3 separate regions of the Homo sapiens genome follow, and all the other regions are linked to region 3. The links are contacts of gene promoters, found by promoter capture Hi-C in blood cells and fetal thymus (Javierre and others, 2016). All regions are on one chromosome and are shown on one strand. The core of a region is centred on a gene start or on the middle of the fragment in contact, and the rest is flanking DNA. Distances in the headings are between cores, read along the strand shown. Region 1 has its middle 120 kb from the start of USP12-AS1. Region 2 has its middle 25 kb from the start of RASL11A. Region 3 holds the start of CDX2 (caudal type homeobox 2).

Evidence for each region. The method cuts DNA at HindIII sites, captures the fragments that hold promoters and counts their contacts. A CHiCAGO score of 5 or more calls a contact.
Region 1: a contact is called between a fragment that was not itself captured here and the fragment with the promoter of CDX2 in region 3, in 5 of 17 cell types (non-activated CD4 T cells, naive CD4 T cells, total CD4 T cells and 2 more). The highest score is 8.4, in non-activated CD4 T cells.
Region 2: a fragment that was not itself captured here is called in contact with the fragment with the promoter of CDX2 in region 3 in 1 of 17 cell types (M2 macrophages); the score reaches 5.0 in M2 macrophages.

Annotation. Positions count from the first base shown.
Region 1 is chr13:26,999,489-27,002,247 of GRCh38, forward strand. No RefSeq gene overlaps it. Among named protein-coding and RNA genes, the nearest start is that of USP12-AS1, 120 kb to the right of the region's middle. The HindIII fragment of the contact is 2,857 bases long and covers 24-2,759 here.
Region 2 is chr13:27,294,642-27,297,360 of GRCh38, forward strand. No RefSeq gene overlaps it. Among named protein-coding and RNA genes, the nearest start is that of RASL11A, 25 kb to the left of the region's middle. The HindIII fragment of the contact is 3,197 bases long and covers 1-2,719 here.
Region 3 is chr13:27,968,036-27,970,735 of GRCh38, forward strand. CDX2 (caudal type homeobox 2) reads right to left here and starts at 1,280. Exons shown (of 3, transcript NM_001265.6): 1 at 431-1,280. The coding sequence starts at 971. RefSeq lists an enhancer at 515-1,206. The HindIII fragment of the contact is 4,126 bases long and covers 1-2,700 here.

The DNA of each region.
Region 1 (2,759 bases), core at 202-2,701, 970 kb before region 3:
AAATAACTCCAATAACCTTTGGAAGCTTTAGATAATTCTGCAAAACATGGCGGGACTTTAACTCTAGTAAGCGCAGGACAGCTCTGGCTCTGTTCTTTTACTACTTACATGGCAGCTTCCACCCAACCAGGATGCCACACATGGCCCATCCAATCACCCCAGCACACGTGGCGGTGAACTTGGTCTTCCTGACAAAGAGAGGCAGCCAGCTCACAGAGCAGCAGAGTGTGACCCAGTCGGGGACCCAGGGCATGCTCATTCTGCCCTTGGGAAGATGGCCAGGCCCCTTCCTGTATCTCAGCTGCTTCTCTCAGACCCTAGGTTGATGATTCCGCATCTGAGTTGCTGCTTGGGTAAAAAGAGTAGGATTGTGGGGGCATACGGACCACACCATCAGATATGGGCAACAAATATCTTAAAATGAAAAAGCAGTTTGTGACCTCATGGAGTGTGGATTCATTTCTGCATAATGCTTGTGTGTGTGTGTATTATACTCTAGTATATCTGTATATTTAGAATAAATATACAGATCTGTATATTTAGAATAAATTCTGGAGGAATATTACCAAAATGTAATTAATGGTTATGGCTTTGAGGCACAATTTTAGGATGCTTTAAGTTTTTGTTTTACTTTGATATTTAATTTTTTAATGAGCATGCATTAGTTCTGAAGAAAAAATGTTTTTAAAAAATTTTAAAGAGCAAGTATGCAAAATAAGAAGTTCAAACACATCATTTTTACATATGATCAGACGTGGTTTTATTAATGGCAAAGCGAGTTACTAAAAATAAGATTTGCCCAAAGAAGCAGAAATGAGGCCCTGTGTGTTTCCTGCCATCCCATCTTTTACTCCAAAATGAATAAAGGATAGTTCATAGGATCCCAATGTTTAAGGATGCTAATTTTTCTTTAGCTTTGACCTGAAGTTATTTATTTAATGAATGAGAAGAACTAATACATTTAATGTGGAAAATCTGATCACAATTTATACATGATTTTTTGTTTTTGTGAGTTCAACACTGGACTCTCATTTTTCTGTTCTTTTTTCATGTAATATTCCATAAACGGTTGTATTCTACCATGTCATTCAATGTCAGATCATAAGCATTTTCCCACATTGTCACAAAGTCTTCAGAGACATTTTAACAGCTGTGTAATAAACAACTGTGTCTTGGGTGATTTGGCCACTTGCTTATCATTGGCCTTTTAGGTCTTTCATCAGCTATTAGAAATAATCATTTATTCCTCAACTCATTCATCCACAAATCCAACGAATACCTCTTCAGCACTTGCTCTGCCCGAGGCCCTGTGCTAAGCACTGGGGGATCATCCAACACAGTCTCCCTAGCTGAGGACAAATGTTAACCAACCAGCAGCTGCACCGTCGCACACCGAATTGACTGCTTTGACGAAGAAGCAGAGTTTGAGGAGAAGTTAGACCTTGAGAACCTGGCTGTTAGAGGATAAACTGTGTGCATCCTCCCAAACTCATAGGGTGAAGTCCTAACCCCCAGCACCTGACAGTGGAATTGGACTTGTAAGTAGGGTCATGGCAGATTGACTCAGTTAAATGAGGTCATCAGGGCAGGCCCTAATCCAATAAGACTGGTGTCCTTATAAAAGGGGGAAATTTGGACACACACAGAAAGAAAGCCGTGTGGACGTGAAGTTGGCCTTCTAAAAGCCCAGGAGAGTAGCTGGGAATAGATCCTTCCCTCAGAGCCTCAGAAGGAACCACCACTGCTGACACCTTGACCTTGGACTTTCAGCCTCTGGAACTGGGAGAAAACTCGTACCTGTTGTTGGTGCCACCCGGTCTGTGGGGCTTGGTTTTGGCAATCGTAGAATGAGGCTTCTCTGGGGAAGTGACATTAGGCTGTGATCTGGATGATGAGGGGGAGTCACTAGAAGAGAAAAGGGAGTGATGTGTGCCCAAAGGAGGCAAGGGTCTAAGTCATCGAGGGACAGTAGGCACATGAAGGATGTTGGGTATCATTCTATGGTCAATGAGCTGGAAAGTGACTTGATCAGCGTGGCCTTTTGTATTCAGAGTTCAACAAAACATGAAAGAAGTCACTCTTGCTTTTTTGAGAAGAAAAGCACCTAATACAGAGAATTATCTGCTCACAAGTCATTAGATGGGCTGGAGGAGCAGGTCATGGCCTGGGTCTTGAGGAGGAATTCGCAGAGTGTCACTGCAGAGCTCACTCACCAGGGGAGCCGTTACCTCTACTTCAGTGAGGAAGCTGGGGAATCAGAAGATGAGCTGCACCTGCTGGCCTCAGAACACAACGTACAGGCAGCAGTCCAGTGTCCACAGGCCACAGCTGCAACTACAACTGCAGAGCTACACTGCACCTGCTAAACACATACCTGCTGGAGCTACGTCTGCCAGACCCACACCTGCTGAAGCCACACCTCCTAGACCCACGTCTACTGGAGCCAAACTCGTTAGACCAACACCTGCTGGAGCCACGACCCCTAGACCCACACCTGCTGGACCCAGCTGCAGAAGTGAACACCTGCCCCCTGCCACCACTCTCCCTGCCTCACTCTGCACTAGCTCAGGTCACCTACATTTGACTTAAGCAGAGCCTAAGTTGGAATCTACATTTCATGGAGTCTAGGAAATACAGTCCTCACCTTTCCAGCTTCTGCAGGAGAGAAAGGCACACTGGGAGGAGGTTGGAAAAGATGTTGAATACACCAAAGTACTGCATCCTCTTCAAAAGATCACTTTGGTTTTTCTATGGAAACT
Region 2 (2,719 bases), core at 182-2,681, 670 kb before region 3:
GGGTCTTTAAAGAGGTACATGAATTAAAATGAGGTCATTAAGGCAGACCCTTATCCAATACCACTAGTGTCCTTATAAGAAGAGGAGGTTTAGACACAGAGATATGCAGAGGGAAGATGGTGTGAAGACACAGGGAAAAGGGGGATATCTACAAGCCAAAGAGAGAGGCCTTGGGAGAAGAAACTCTGCCGGCATGTTCATCTTGGACTTCCAGCCCCCAGAGCTGTGAGAAAATAAATGTCTGTTGTTTAAGCCTCCCAGGCTATGGTACTTTGTAATGGCAGCCCCAGCCAGTTGATACTCCTTTGATGAGGTTTGTTGTGGAGAAATACATACATGGCTCATCCCCTCTCTAATGCTGGAAGGCATCGTGCACAAACCCATGCCTCCAGATCATAATCTGCACTCCAAGGAGGACCTGGGGCTGTTCTCTTTCCTTATGGAAGGGATGCAAATGTCCATCTCGAAGTGACTCTTTCCACTTTGAAACAAAGAGGAGCTGGAAGAATTTTGCCATTAAACTTTTAATAATAGTCATGTGTCTTCCTTAGGTATTTTTATATTTGCTTGTACCTTTGTTCAATAGAAAATGACAAATGCATGACTCTCCAGGCCCACCCACTCAACTCCCACGTTCCCAGCTGATTCAGTGTTCTCTGATCCACTGTCTCCGCTGGCTTGTCTCATCACTCCAACATAGGTGCTCACGTGCACACGCTTTGCCACTTCCAAGGGCATGGGAAGAGGTGAGGAATGAATTGCCAGTGTTGGGGTCTGGGCTCATCCACCCGCTGATGGCACGGCCATCCCTAGAGGCAAAAGGAGTCTCAGGCTGGTCATCACACTTGGCATTCTGGAGTGTTCAAACATTTTTCATGAATGCTAACTCATTTAGTCATCAAAGAACCCTGCGATTTAGGCAGAGTGAAGCTATTATTTTCATTTTCAGGAGGAAACTGGGGCTCAGAAAGATGAGGTGCCACGTGCAGGGTCTCATAGTAAGGATGAGGGAGCACAGAGATGAGAGCCTTCTTTCAGTCACCACTCCTACGCTCTCCCAAGCCTTGGGCAAACATTAAGAACTCTGTGCCCTTGGTTGTCCCGTCACCAGCATTAAACTGGCTTATCTGGTGACATAGTAAGATTTTGACAGCAACCACTTATGCAGTGCTGATGATGATCCAGGCACCTTTCTATGTAAATGCTGTACATGGATTCACATCTAACACCCTTATGACGTTAAGTCCTGTTATTGTCACCTGCACTTTACAGATGCAGAGACTGAGGTGTGGAGAAGTTATATCGCTGGCCCAAGATTACACAGCTGTCAAGAGGCAGACTCAACCTTCACACCCAGGCAGTCTGGCTGCAGGCTCTGCTCTCTTTGCTACTATGCCATAACTGCCCCTCACTGAGAGGCCTCTGTCTGTGGTCAGGATGGTCAAGACCACATGGAGGCCAGGAAGGTTGTTACCTGCCACAGGGACAGAACCATTGTGTCCTTCCAAAATTCATAATTCAAAACCTTCCCCACTAATGTGATGGTATTGGGAGGTGGGGCCTTTAGAGGTGATTAGAATTAGATGGGGTCCTGAGGGTGGGGCCCTCATAGCGGGATTGGTGTCCTTATAGGAAGGGACACCAGAGAGCTGGCTTCCTCTCTTTGCCCCGTGAGGACACGGTGAGGAGGTATAATCCAGGAAACAGGAGGAAGACCCTCCCCAGACATCGAATCTGCCAGAGCCTTGAGCTTGGATGTCCCAGTAACCAGAATGGCAAGAAACTACTGTTATGTAAGCCGCCTGGTCTGTTGTGTTTTGTTATAGCAGCCGGGCTGACTAAGACGACTGCCATCCCCCCCCACCAAGTGAGCACTCTGTGCCCCAAATCAAGCCCTGGAATGCCCCGAAGTCTGAGCTCCCTGGAGCCCGAGCTCCTATCCCTCCAGCTAGCATCAGCGGTTCCTGGTGTCCCTCCATCTGGTTTGGCTTCACATTCCCAGCAAAGCGGTCCAAACTAGGTCAGTAACAGCAGGAGCGGGTGGCCTGTGCTTCCTGCATCCTCCTGCTCCCTGAGCAATCTGGTCCAGTGGCTGAGAACAGTATCTCCTCAGGCTGCCGCAAAGCCCTGCTGAGGAGGACAGTGATTCAGGCTGAGTGTGTCTTAATGGTTCTGTCTGCTCCTTCTTTGCATGTATCAGAGCCTGCTGCTCCGAAGAGGTTTTCAAGCTCACGGAAACAATGGGGCTGGCAGTTTTCAGTACAGAACTTGTGCTCACCAGAGGGGAAAGGGCTCTTAGGGCAGTGAGAACCCAGGGTATGCCAGGGGAGCTTCCAACAGCAGAGAGAAAGACCTTGGATATTTGTAGCCTCAGCTCCTCACCGGCTGTATGACCCTGGAGAGTATAGTCATCACAGTAGCACTTATGGGCCACTTGTTATGAATCAGGCCCTTTGCTAAGCATTTTACATATATGGTCTCATTCAATCCTCACAACGACCTGGGGAGAGCGCCTCATTTTATGGATAAGGATATTGAGGTCCAGGGACAAGGAGGCTGAGTTATTTGCTCAAGGTCATACATTTAGTAAACAGCTAGGATTTGATCAAGATTGTTCCTTGTTCTCTCTCTCCTTTCCTCCCTCCCATCCTCCCTATCTCTCTCTCCTTTCTTTCCTCTTTCTCTTCCTTCCACTCAACAAATATTTGTAGCATCTGTC
Region 3 (2,700 bases), core at 30-2,529:
ATAAATGGCCTAGACCTAGCCCAAGAAGGTTCGAGCCTCCCTCTCTCCTCGGCGGCCAGGAGCCACGCAAGGAATGCATGCCGCAGCAAGTGCCGGAGGACGCGATTCTGCCGGCGTCCAGCAGTGCTCACGCCGACATTCCCCGGAGCTTCCCGAAGGTGTCCCGGGGTTGCGAATGAGGAGCTCTTGGAAAGAGGACGCCTGAACACGGTGTTGAGACTCAGAATATTCACTCCCAGGCTCAGTAGGTCAGAGAAGCCCCGACGGGCCAGAGGCCCCCGAATTTGTCTCCGGGCCGTGCCCCTCCTGGCGCCGAGCTCCCAGACAGCCCGGGACGCCCCTGTGCGCACTGGACGCGCGACGCGCAGCAGCCACTGGCTCGACCCGCGCCTTCCCAAGCACCCTCCGAAGGGGCGCAGCCTCTGCTTACCTTGGCTGCCGAGGGACTGCTGCGCCGGCTTCCGCATCCACTCGCACAGGTTCCGCCGCTGGCCGCCGGGAGACAGCTGCTCGGCGGCAGCGGTGGCGGCGGGCCCAGGAGGGCCGGGGTTGAGCGTTTGCAGCAGCCCAGAAGCGCAGGAAGGCGCGGCGGCCGGGTGGTGCGGGTGGTGATGCGGGTGGTGGTGCGGATGGTAGTCTGCGGGGCTGCTGTAGCCCATGGCTGCGGCCGGGGAGCCACCGTTGAGGCCGTGAGCCACGGCGTTGGCGGCGGCCGCGGCGCCTCCGGGCGCGTAGCCATTCCAGTCCTCCCGGAGTGGGGCGCCATACGCTGCCGGCCAGGATGGCCCCGGGGACTGCGCGCTGTCCAAGTTCGCTGCCGCTGCAGCTGCGGCCGCCACGTGGTAACCGCCGTAGTCCGGGTACTGCGGGGGGCTGACGAAGTTCTGCGGCGCCAGGTTGAGGCCGCCAGAGTGGCGCACGGAGCTAGGGTACATGCTCACGTCCTTGTCCAGGAGGTAGCTCACGTACATGGTGGCGAGGGTCCGGGAGCAGACCTCACCATGCTGCCTGGGGACCGACGCTGGAGGCTGCCGGGGGGCACGAAGGGAAAGGGGCGAGGGGACTCGAGGAGCGGCGGGTGGCTGCGCCCCAGCCCGCGGTGCTCCGCTGGCTCCTCGCGGCTCTTCTGCCTCCGAGGCGGTCCCTCCCTCTGGCCTGCCTCCTCCCTCCCTCCCTTTCTTCCTTCTTTCCTCCCACCTCCTTCCCACTAGGCTGCAGAGGCGGGGAAGACCCGCCACAGGCTGGCGTGCGGAGCCCCAGGCCGGCGGCCTTCCGTGATTAACGAGTGTTTACAAGACTCTATTAGTAATGACACAGACACCAATGGTTGGAGACGTCGAGGCGCAGCGCGCACTCTACGCACAACCCCTCGAAACATAATTTGCATTTTAAAAGATAAAGGGGAGGGAGGCTCGTGAGAGGGCAGCGACCTGACACAGCTAAATATTCAAACCTTTATTGTTAAGAGCTTCCTCCTTCCAACCTGGTGCACTTTAACCTCCAATCACAGGTTCAAAGAATGAAATCAAGAGACTTACAAAAGAGAGGGGAAGAGAAAAGGCTATCTTGGTAGGAATCTGAGCTTGGAGACAGGAGCAGTGGTTGTTTATGCATTTGCAGGGAAGAGGGCGGTCAAGAAACTCCTTCTGTCCCAAAGAGAAAAGAAAAGAGAACCATTGCTTTGATGAGAACGTTTCTGACCAACCTGGTAGGTGACAAGCAGAGAGCCCTAAGAGATGGGCCATTCCTTCCCGCCCTGTGCTCCTGGCCCGGACGACTGCAGCCCCAAACAACTGTCACCTCCAGTTATTTTCTTGCCCAAGGAAATTACTCGCCCTCCGCACAAGACAAATTATGATCCTAGATTCAGGCTGCATCTCTGACTTCATCTTACATTTGAAATTTGAGTTAAATTCAAGCGATTTATTGTTAAACGTTTACATTCAAGAATCAGAAGTTTTAAACTACAGAAGTAATGGGCATGTGGTAGAAGTTAGGCTAGTGGTTATTGGCGTGCATAACTGGAGGCGAGCTAGGGGATCGTTGGTAAAGCAGTTTCTTAGGCTGCTGGTTACACAGAATGTCAGTTTGTGAAAATTCATTGAGCTACACTTGTATGTTTATTATACTTAAATATAAGGAAAAGAGAATTTCTGCTAATGCTTACCTAGGTATTTATGTGTCTTACATCATACCTGTATCTTTAAAACTCTCTGTCCTTTACAAAGGGAAACGTTCTCCGAAGAAATTTATTTCTCATTTCCAGGAGATGATAAGGCAACTCAGGGCCATTATTAACGACTGCTAATGAAAAGCTCTGAGTTGAGAAAGGATCTCTCTTGGTTTGGGAAGCGCTGCGGCCAAGGGGCCTAGGGCTGGAAGTGGCCGTCTTGGGGACCGAAGCCGCGCAGCCCGGGATCGGGAGCTGCCCCGACAGGAGCGCGGAGGCGGCGAGATTCGGCCCCCGCGCGCGCCCAGCTCGGTTTCAGCAACCGCGTGGAGTGGGCCTGCGGCCGCCGTTCACCTCCTAATACAAGCCTTTGACAGCGCTGCCAGATTCGGGAATGAGGATCACTGCGGCGAGGCCCGGCGGGCTGGGCAGCCTGACTCGGCGGCTTTGAGCGCTCTCAGAACCCGCGGGCGCTCGCGGCACTCCTGGAGACCTGCACTTGTCTGTTCTCATTGTCAAGCGTTTCGCTC